3 separate regions of the Homo sapiens genome follow, and regions 1 and 2 are each linked to region 3. The links are contacts of gene promoters, found by promoter capture Hi-C in human tissues and cell types (Jung and others, 2019). All regions are on one chromosome and are shown on one strand. The core of a region is centred on a gene start or on the middle of the fragment in contact, and the rest is flanking DNA. Distances in the headings are between cores, read along the strand shown. Region 1 holds the start of TNFRSF13B (TNF receptor superfamily member 13B). Region 2 holds the start of ALKBH5 (alkB homolog 5, RNA demethylase). Region 3 overlaps PEMT (phosphatidylethanolamine N-methyltransferase).

Evidence for each region. The method cuts DNA at HindIII sites, captures the fragments that hold promoters and counts their contacts. A contact is called where the count stands out against the background at its distance.
Region 1: a contact is called between the fragment with the promoter of TNFRSF13B here and a fragment that was not itself captured in region 3, in 1 of the 25 tissues and cell types used here (spleen).
Region 2: the fragment with the promoter of ALKBH5 here is called in contact with a fragment that was not itself captured in region 3 in 3 of the 25 tissues and cell types used here (dorsolateral prefrontal cortex, hippocampus and mesenchymal stem cells).

What each region holds. Positions count from the first base shown.
Region 1 is chr17:16,970,716-16,973,747 of GRCh38, reverse strand. It overlaps TNFRSF13B (TNF receptor superfamily member 13B), which reads left to right and starts at 1,630. Exons shown (of 5, transcript NM_012452.3): 1 at 1,630-1,733. The coding sequence starts at 1,673. RefSeq lists an enhancer at 29-198. The HindIII fragment of the contact is 7,559 bases long and covers 1-3,032 here.
Region 2 is chr17:18,182,472-18,185,831 of GRCh38, reverse strand. ALKBH5 (alkB homolog 5, RNA demethylase) reads right to left here and starts at 2,004. Exons shown (of 4, transcript NM_017758.4): 1 at 819-2,004. The coding sequence starts at 1,588. RefSeq lists silencers at 1,127-1,278, 1,437-1,526, 1,607-1,906 and enhancers at 1,172-2,009, 2,117-2,356, 2,417-2,616. The HindIII fragment of the contact is 6,004 bases long and covers 1-3,360 here.
Region 3 is chr17:17,585,198-17,588,335 of GRCh38, reverse strand. The region is part of intron 1 of PEMT (phosphatidylethanolamine N-methyltransferase); the gene reads left to right. It also overlaps the pseudogene EEF1A1P43. Among named protein-coding and RNA genes, the nearest start is that of PEMT, 4.9 kb to the left of the region's middle. The HindIII fragment of the contact is 6,883 bases long and covers 1-3,138 here.

The DNA of each region.
Region 1 (3,032 bases), core at 381-2,880, 610 kb after region 3:
CCTGCTTATTCAGGCATCCTCTGCTGCATGGACATTTACATTGTTTCCCGTTTCTCGCTGTCATGAGGAGGCTCACGGAGGAGGAGAATTTCTGGGGGGTGGGTTAGGTGTGTGTTGTGCATTTAACTGACCCTGGCTGGTTACTCTCCAGAACGCTGCTGCCAGCTCCCTCCCTCCAGTGGGCCCTGAGTTCATGCTTCTGTAGATCACCCCCCTGCCCTTGATGTTACCAACTTTAAAACTTTGCAACCTGATGGCTGAAAGTTAGTTTTTCATTGTTCAGTTGTTTTTCTGATTTTTGGGAGACTGGACATTTTCCTGTGTTTGCTGACCGTCTGCATCTCCTCTCCTGCTCTGTGCACCATCACCCTGCTCCAGCTGCTTCCTGCAGCCTCCCTCCTTCCTCTCCACCTCTCCATGTCCTCCTCGTCCTTCAGTTTCTTCCTAAGGGCCCATGGGCTTTCTTTGGCTTTTACGTTCCTCTCACTCCGCCTTTGGCTGTTGCTGGGCCTCCCATCCCCTGGGAGGTTTCAGACGATGGGGAAGACACAGGAGTGCAGTCGCCATGCAGTGCAATACGGGCTGTAATGTTCCTCCTCCACGGCCTTTATTGAGGACTTACTGTGTGCCAAGAACCTGCTCTAAGAATGTAACTGTGCTCCCTCCCTCATTTCATGCTCATAACCGCCTGTGAGGCGGGCAATGTTCTCATCCTTTTTTTTTTTTTTTTTTTTGAGATGGCATCTCTGTTGCCCAGGCTGGAGTGCAATGGCACGATCTCGGCTCACTACAACCTCTGACTCCCAGGTTCATTCTCCTGCCACAGCCTCCCAAATAGATGGGACTACAGGCACGCGCCACCACACCCGGCTAATTTTTTGTATTTTTTTTTAGTAGAGATGGGGTTTCACCGTGTTGCCCAGGATGGTCTCGAACTCCTGAGCTCAGACAATCCACCTGCCTCGGCCTCCCAAAGTGCTAGGATTACAGGCGTGAGCCACCATGCCCGACCTCATCCTTGTTTTACACAGAGAACATGGAGGCACAGAAGAGTTCCATAAATTGCCACCAAGGCCTTCTGCTAGTATGCAGCAGAGTCAAGATTCAAACGCAGGCTGTCCGGTCCTGGGGTTCAGCCTCTCCAGTGCTCTGCTAGGTGTTGGAGAGGGTCAAGGAGATACAGAGAATGAGTACCACCTGACAGGCTGGGACAGTCAGGGATGGCTTCCTGGAGGAGGTGACACCTCAATGGAGCCTTGAAGGAAGAGCAGGAGGAGCCGACCAGGCAATGAATAGAATAAGTATACCCAGGAAGAGGGAAAGGCCTGAGTGATGCTGGGAGGGTGGAGAGCTGGCCTGGCTTGGGGTGTGTGCCGGCGGGCAGGAGATGAGGACCAAGGGATGGCCAAGGCCAGATCTAGAAGAGCCTGGGCCATCCCATAGTCAATACCTCATCGCAAGGCCCGGCAGGCCTTCCACTGCTCTGTGTGTACCCCATGGGACGCCAGGAGCCTGGGCCGCAGCCACCCACCTGGGCTCCTGAGACCCAATGCACAGGCATGGGGGCGGGAGTGGGTGTGGCTGATTTACATCCAACAGGTTGAGGGGAAAACCCAGGAAGTGCAGCCCAAGCACTAATCAAATCTAAGACTAGTAATAAGCATCCTGAGTAATGAGTGGCCTGGGCCGGAGCAGGCGAGGTGGCCGGAGCCGTGTGGACCAGGAGGAGCGCTGTGAGTAGCCGGGCAGGAGGGCAGGAGGGCAGGTGGGAGGTGTGAGGAGGGTTGGGCCTGAGTGCCGTGGGGGTTGCAAGGTCCAGCAGGTGCAAAGCCCACAGCAGATCCACACACTGGGGCAGTCCCAGCCTCCCCAAGCTCCTGCACATGGAGAGCCCCGAGTCTGGATGCCTCTGGGATGTGGGGCTTGCCTTCCGTGACAGAAGCCACTGAGGTTGCAGGGTTGGCCACACCGGCAGGAATTCCCTTTGTCACCATGGCCCCTGCACAGCCCCCATTTTCCCCCTTACATGCCCGCTGGACCATTTTAATGCTAATCTCAAATACCAGATTGTTTGAGTTGTGGAGACCACAGGATTTATTCCTTAAGAACACAAACCCTAAAAACAAAACAAAAAACTAAGCATCATACCTTCACCCCTGCTGAAACAACAATTCCTGAACATCATCACATAGCCCGCCAGGGTTCAAACTGTACCAACTGTCTCACCAATGTCTTTCTCAGTTGACTTGTTCAAATCAGCCTGTCCCACATTAGACTTTTGGCTATGTTTTAATCTATAACAGTTTCCACCCATTTTTTCTGTTATATATTTATATTTATATTTATCCTATAGCTTTCTTTTTTTTTGTTTTGTTGTTTTGTTTTTGTTTTTGTTTTTTGAGACAGAGTCTTGCTCTGTCACCCAGGTTGGAGTGCAATGGCATGATCTCGGCTTTCTGCAACCTCCGCCTCCCGGGTTCAAGCCATTCTCCTGCCTCAGCCTCCCGAGTGGCTGAGATTATAGGTGCCCACCACCACGCCCGGCTAATTTTTTGTATTTTTAGTAGAGATAGGCTTTCGCCACGTTGGCCAGGCTGATCTCAAACTCCTGACCTCAGGTGATCCACCTGCCTCAGCCTCCCAAAGTATTGGGATTACAGGCATGAGCCACGGCACCCGGCCCGTATAGCATTTTCATCAGGGTGGGTTTCTAAGGTTTTATGAAAGGGCCCCAGGTCCTTTAGTGCAGACAGAACCCATGGCCAGATGGACCCGGGGCACAGCCTAGATTCACAGCCTCTGCCTGCTGCTCTGTCCCACACCTCAGGCAGGGAGCAAATTTGTTCTTCAGTCCTTTTTTGTGTCCAGCCACCAAGTCCCCAGAATCTACACAGCCAGGGGCTCAAATATGTAAAGTTTCTGAGAGACTTGGACAAGGCAGTGACCAGAGGCTGCCTTAACACAGGATGAAATTGCCCAGTGCTCTGGGGCCACGAGTCAGGACCCAGCTAGAACTGTGACCTGGCAGTGGC
Region 2 (3,360 bases), core at 755-3,254, 600 kb before region 3:
CATAAACAGCAAAGGTGTTCCCAATGGCAATCTCCTCTGGGGGCCAGGGCACTGAGCTAATTCTCAGCAGGATCTGGGAACCGAATATAGGCCAAAAGCCTAAGTTCTGCTGCTCACGCAACTGTAAGGCCAAACAGTCAAGAGACCAGCTGTATTCTGTTGTATTCAGTCCTGACTACAAGTAACACGTTCTTACAAAGAACTGATGGGCTCTTCTGCAGCCAGGAGGGAAGAATTTTAAGAGTGTGCTGCTCTGTATGCCTGGCCCAACCACTAATCTGTTCAACTCCAGGGAAGTCACTCCCCCTCCTGGGAATGGAGAATGTGCTTCAATTAAATAATCTCTGGGGCCTTTGCCTGTGACTACTTTCTCTGTTAAGGAATCCAAAAATGGCAGAACAAGAAAGACTTTTAGATAAATTAAAAAAAAAAAAAATTTTAAAGCATAGATTTGTAAATGGAAGGCCAGAATGGAAAACCGGAAAATCACAAAGGGACTTATGCTAAGAAATGGATGGTGGGAAAAAAAAAAATCAAAGGGAACAGCCTTCTGAAAAGATGGCTTTCGATGAATTCTCAGCCAAGTCAGTGATCCCGTCAAACCTGCCTTCGGGGACAGGATTTCCACATCGGTTCCCTATTTTCTTGCTATAGGTATCTTAAACACAAAACCCTTCTCTCGCTCCCTACAATCTACAAACAGAAGAACTGGTCAGAACTGTAAAAAACGCAGACTCCTACGGGCTGCTGCTTTCTGGGCCAGGGTGGGTAGCTAAGGCAGCAGGCGCAGGGCCGCCCCCTCCACCCGGGTGGGTTACCTGAGCACAGTCACGCTTCCCCTGCGCACCGGCAGGGAAAGCACTGGTTCCGACACCCGAATAGGCTTGAACTGGAACTTGCAGCCGAAGCACAGCGCAGAGTCGCTAAAGAAGGACACGGACACGATGGGGCGCTCGAAGATGTGGATGGGGTCCACGTGAGACACGATGCAGCCGCCGGGCTGGTAGTCGTTGATGACGGCGCTGTTGACGAAGCCCTCGGGGATGACGCGGTGCTCCACCAGCTTTTGGATCACCAGCTGGTGCACCCACTCGGGGATCTCGTCCACGTCGCCCGGCGGGTAGAGGCGCTCCTGGCCGGGCCCGCGCTTCTGCAGCTGGGCGCCGTAAGTGTAGCCTTCGCCGAAGAAGTACTTGTTGCGCAGTGGGGCCCGGTCCACCGTGTGCTCGTTGTACAGGCCCTTCTCAGCGCGGGACACCACCTCGTCAATGCGGGCCTCGATCTTGGCGCACTCGTCCTGGCTGAAGAGGCGCATCTGGCGGATGCCGCTCTTCACCTTGCGCGCCTCCTCCTCCTTCTGCAGCTGCTGCTCCTCATAGTCGCTGCGCTCGGGGTCCGAGTCCTCCTGATACTTGCGCTTGGCCCCGGACACAGGGTAAGGTTCGGCGGCAGCGGCGGCTGCGGCTGCGGCGGCTACGGCGGCTGCGGCAGCGGCGGCGGCCTCCCGGCTGCCCGCCTTATAGTTGTCCCGGGACGTCATGGACTTGAGCTTCTCACGCAGGTCCGTGTAGCCGCTGGCGGCCGCCATGGCCCCCACGACGCTGCTCTAGGGTCCTCCGGGGCGGGCGGGGCAGCCGGGCATGGCTCTAAGGGGACGCGCCCCGGGGCCCCCGGAGGGAGGGGGGTCCTTAGCGCCGAACCCCCATGCGTGAGTGGGGGACCCGGCGGGGGGCGTCGAGGGTCCGGGCGTGGGGTAGGGCCTCAGGAGCGGCGGGTCATGCAACGGTGGCGACAACGGGGCTTCTTCCTCCTCCACCTTCTCCACGTCCCGCGGGGCAGGGGCGCCGGCAGCGCCTCATGCCGCGGAGGGCTGCTGCGGAGACGCGGCCCGACTCCCGACCAGACCCTCGGACGCCCGGCCCGGCCCGCACTTTAAAGCTCTCCGCACGACGTCACGGGCAGCCAGCCCGACGTCCGCCAGCGCCGCTCCTTAGCGGGCTCCTCACCGCGCACGCGCAGTGCTGCCGGCCACCGCGGCTCCGCGCGCTACGGGCATGCGCGTGCGTGCAGGCCGGGTCGGCAGAGGCGCCGGCGCAAGCGCAGACAGGAACCGCTTGCCGTCCGCCGCCCCTCCCCCACTCTCTGAGGGGCTTCAAGGGAACGCTCTCAAATAGCAACCTGTCTTCACGCCGCGCCGCCTCCAGGACCGAAGGGCTCCCTCTACAGGGGTGCGCTCATATTGCCAACAGTGTCGCCGTGCCGCGTCACGGCATCGTCCGAACGCCCGCAGACGCCTCAACCCCAGGGCGCATTCACCAGGGAACCGCCACAACGTAGGCCGCTCCGTTACCTCCCCCTTTGGCGCTTCCACTTCTTTAATTGGGCCGTGGGCCACGCGCCGGGCAGGCCCTGACTGGAGTTTCCGGAAGTCGGTTGGTAATCATGCGTGTCAATCAGGCAGTCTCCTTAGCTACTGTGTCCGTCACTTAATTAGCGGCTGGGCGAGCAGCGAGGACCCCTAAAGGAGAAATGGGTGGTTAAATAAGTGCCTGAATGGAGACTCCACCTGAGTAAAGCCCTTAGAACGCCTAAGGAAACTTCTGAAACCCGCGAAAACTTCTCAGACTGCGGGACCTGCAGCACCCGGCCCCAGTTCTGAACCCAGATAGGAACGTCCGGCAGAAGCCAGACGCGCGTTGTCGGGGTACAAGCCAGCCTGCCGCCGCTGCCGCCGCCGCCCGGAGCGGACGTTTCACGAGTCACGTCCCGGTGACGGCGAGCGTGGGGGCGCGCTGGGGTTGGCGTCGAGCCTCCTTGGTGCTGGAGATGGGCGTGGGGGCACCTCCTACGGGGACTCTGGAAGAAAACTCCAGGAAACGAACGGGCGCAAGGCTAAGGCTAAGCTATAGATAATGACTACAGTCAATTCAAAAAAGTTTTGAAGCAGTCAGCAAAGGCGTTGCCGGGCGCGGGGCCTCACGCCTGTAATCCCAGCACTTTGCGAGGCCAAGGCGGGCGGATCACTTGAGCCCAGGAGTTTGAGACCAGCCTGGCCAACATGGCAACCCCATCTCTACAATAAAATTTTTAAAAATGAACTGGGCGTGGTGGCGCGCGCCTATGGTCCTAGCTACTCAGGAGGCTGAGGTGGGAGGATCCCTTGAGCCCAGGGGATTGAGGCTGCAGAGAGCCGAGCTGGCGCCACTGCACTCCGGCCTGGGCGACAGAGCTGCAAAACAAAACAAAAAGGCGTAGCCGTGCAGGATGCACTGGAGGGCTCCAACAAATGGGGGTCGGGGGGGATCTGCTGGAAAATCTCCCATGTCTCCCAGGATAAAGTTCCCCTGCTTTATTTGGCAC
Region 3 (3,138 bases), core at 236-2,735:
TTCAGGGAAAAATGTTTGCCTTTATCCAAAATCGTTTCCAAAAATCTTTTGATTGTATTACTTTAGTTGAAATAAACATTAGGCCGTTATATTAGATGAGTTACTCTGTGGTGTTTTCAAGGCCGTACATTTTGTCTTCAGTAATTTTGGCATCAGCCAAGACAGAGCAGGGTTGAGGCTTTCCGTGGCTGCTCATCAAAACAATGACAGAAACTCTTGGAGCTTGTTTCCCCTGCCTCTGTTGAGATGACACTGTTTTTCCTCATTAAGCTGTAAATATGAATTCCATTGATGTTTTGAATGTTGAACTAGCTCTGGATTCCTGGGGTGATCTCTGGCTGGTCCTAACATATTATCCTTTGTATATATTGCTGGATTTGATTTGCTCTAATTTTTGGGGGGATCTTCTTTCTTTATCTGGTTTCATTTGATTTAATTAATTTATTTATTTTAAGACAGAGTCTCGCTCTGTTGCTCAGGCATGTACTCAGGAATGCAGTGGCGTGATACCAGCTCATTGCAACCTCCGCCTCCCGAGTTCAAGCAATTCCCCCACCTCAGGCTCCCGAGTAGCTGGGATTACAGGTGCACCTACCACCACACCTGGTTTTTGTTTTGTTTTGTTTTGTTTTTTGTATTTTTAGTAGCGACAGGGTTGTTGGCCAGGCTGGTCTCAAACTCCTGACCTTAAGTGATCCACCCACCTTGGCCTCCCAAAATGCTGGGATTACAGGCGGTGAGCCACTGCACCCGGCCTGGTTTTAGTGTTAGGGTAATACAGTGAGTTGGGAAGTATTGCCTCCCTCTTCCATATTCTGGAAGAGATTGTGTGGAATTGGAATTATTTTTTCCTTAAATGTTAGGCAGAATTCATCCAGGAAACCATCTGGGCTCAAGGCTTTCTTTTTTTAGGTTTTTAAGCCATAAATTCAAATCCTTTAAAAGATAAAGGATTATTTCTTGAATGAATTTTGACAGTTGTGTCTTGCAAGGATCGGTTCATTTCATCTAAGTTACTTAATTTGTGTTATTCATAGTATTCCCTTATTATTACTTTAATGTTTGTGAGGTCAGTAGAGAAGTCCCCCCTTTTATTTCTGATATTGATATTTTGTGTCTTTTCTCTTTTTTTCTTGGTCAGGCTGGCTGGAGGTTTCTCAGTTTTATTGGGAAAATAAATTTTCCCCAAAGAACCAGCTTTGGGTGTAATTTTTTTTTCTCTATTGTTTTCCTGTTTTCAATTTGATTGATTTTTGCTTATCTTTAATTTTTTGTCCTGCCTCCTTTGGGTTTAACTCATTCCTCTTTCTCTAATTTCTTTCTTTCTTTTTTTGAGACGGAGTCTTCCTCTGTTGCCCAGGCTGGAATGCAGTGGTGCAATCTCGGCTCACTGCAACCTCCGTCTCCCGGGTTCAAGCAATTCTCCTGCCTCAGCCTCCCAAGTAGCTAGGATTACAGGCGCCCTCCACCACGCCTGGTTAATTTTTGTATATTTAGTAGAGATGGGGTTTCACCATGTTGGCCGGGCTGGTCTTGAACTCCTGACCTCAAGTAATCTGCCTGCTTCAGCCTCCCAAAGTACTGGGATTATAGGCATGAGCCACTGCGCCCAGCCACTCTTTCTGTAATTTCTTAAGGGCAAAGCTTATATTCCTGACCTGGGACTTTTCTTCCTTACTAATAGAAGCCCTGCCTTAGCCGCATCCCACAGGGTTTCATGTGTTCTATTCTCATTTTCATTCAGTTCAAAATGTTTCTAGATTTCCCAAGACTTCCCATTTGGCCCTCGCGTGCATTCTTTCCACGATCGCTTTCTGTGACTGATTTCGAGTTTAATTCTGTGGTGGTTTGGGAGCATACTGTGTATGCTTTCTATTCGTTTAAATTTAAGGTTTGTTTGGTGGCCCCAAGTGTGATCTGTTTTGGTGACACCAGAGACTGCAGGCTGTTCCCAAGGCTGCCATGTGCTGTGGTCAGGTCCAGCCACTGGATGGCGCTGCTCAGGTCAGCTGCGTCCTCCCGATTTTCCACCTGCGTTTTTTTTTTTCTTTCTTTCTTTCTTTCTTTCTTTCTTTCTTTCTTTCTTTCTTTCTTTCTTTCTTTCTTTCTTTCTTTCTTTTTCTTTCTTTCTTTCTTTCCTTCCTTCTTTTTCTTTTTCTTTCTTTCTTTTTCTCTTTCTTTTTCTTTCTTTCTTTCTCATTAGATTTTTTTTAATGGGTCTCAAAAATCTGTGACAATTTTTTTTTTTTTTTTGAGACGGAGTCTCGCTCTGTCGCCCAGGCTGAAGTGCAGTGGCGCCATCTTGGGTCACTGCAAGCTCCACCTCCCGGGTTCACGCCATTCTCCTGCTTCAGCCTCCCGAGTAGCTGGGACTACAGGCGCCTGCCACCACGCCCAGCTAATTTTTTTAATTTTTTAGTAGAGACGGGGTTTCACCGTGTTAGCCAGGATGATCTCGATCTCCTGACTTCATGATACGCCCGCCTCAGCCTCTCAAAGTGCTGGGATTACAGGCATGACTCACCGCGCCCGGCCCGACAAATTTTTGGTCAAGTTGTTTCCATTCAAAAGTACTGATTTTAAAAACTAATAACTTAAAACTGCCACAGGCAAAAAAGAAAACCAAAGTGGTCCACAAAACATTTTCCTTTCCTTCTAAAGGTTTTATGATGCATTGTTATCATTAACCAGTCTTTTACTACTAAATTTAAATGGTCAATTGAAACAAACAGTTCTGAGACGTTCTTCACCACTGATTAAGAGCGGGGTGGCAGGTATTAGGGATAATATTCATTTAGCCTTCTGAGCTTTCTGGGCAGACTTGGTGACCTTGCCAGCTCCAGCAGCCTTCTTGTCCACTGCTTTGATTCTCTCAGTCACTGAGAGGACCATGGAGGGCCCTAACAAGAACTGTGGATTTGTCTTTTCCACCCTTTAGTTCTGTCAGCTTTTGCTTCATACCTCACCTCACTTCTTTTTGTTGTTGTTGTTTGTTTTTGAGATGGATTCTCGCTCTGTCGCCCAGGCTGGAGTGCAGTGGCATGACCTCAGCTCACTGCAACCTCCGCCTCCCAGGTTCATGCGATTCTCCTGCCTCAGCCTCCAGAGTAGCTGGGATTACAGGCGCCTGCCACCACG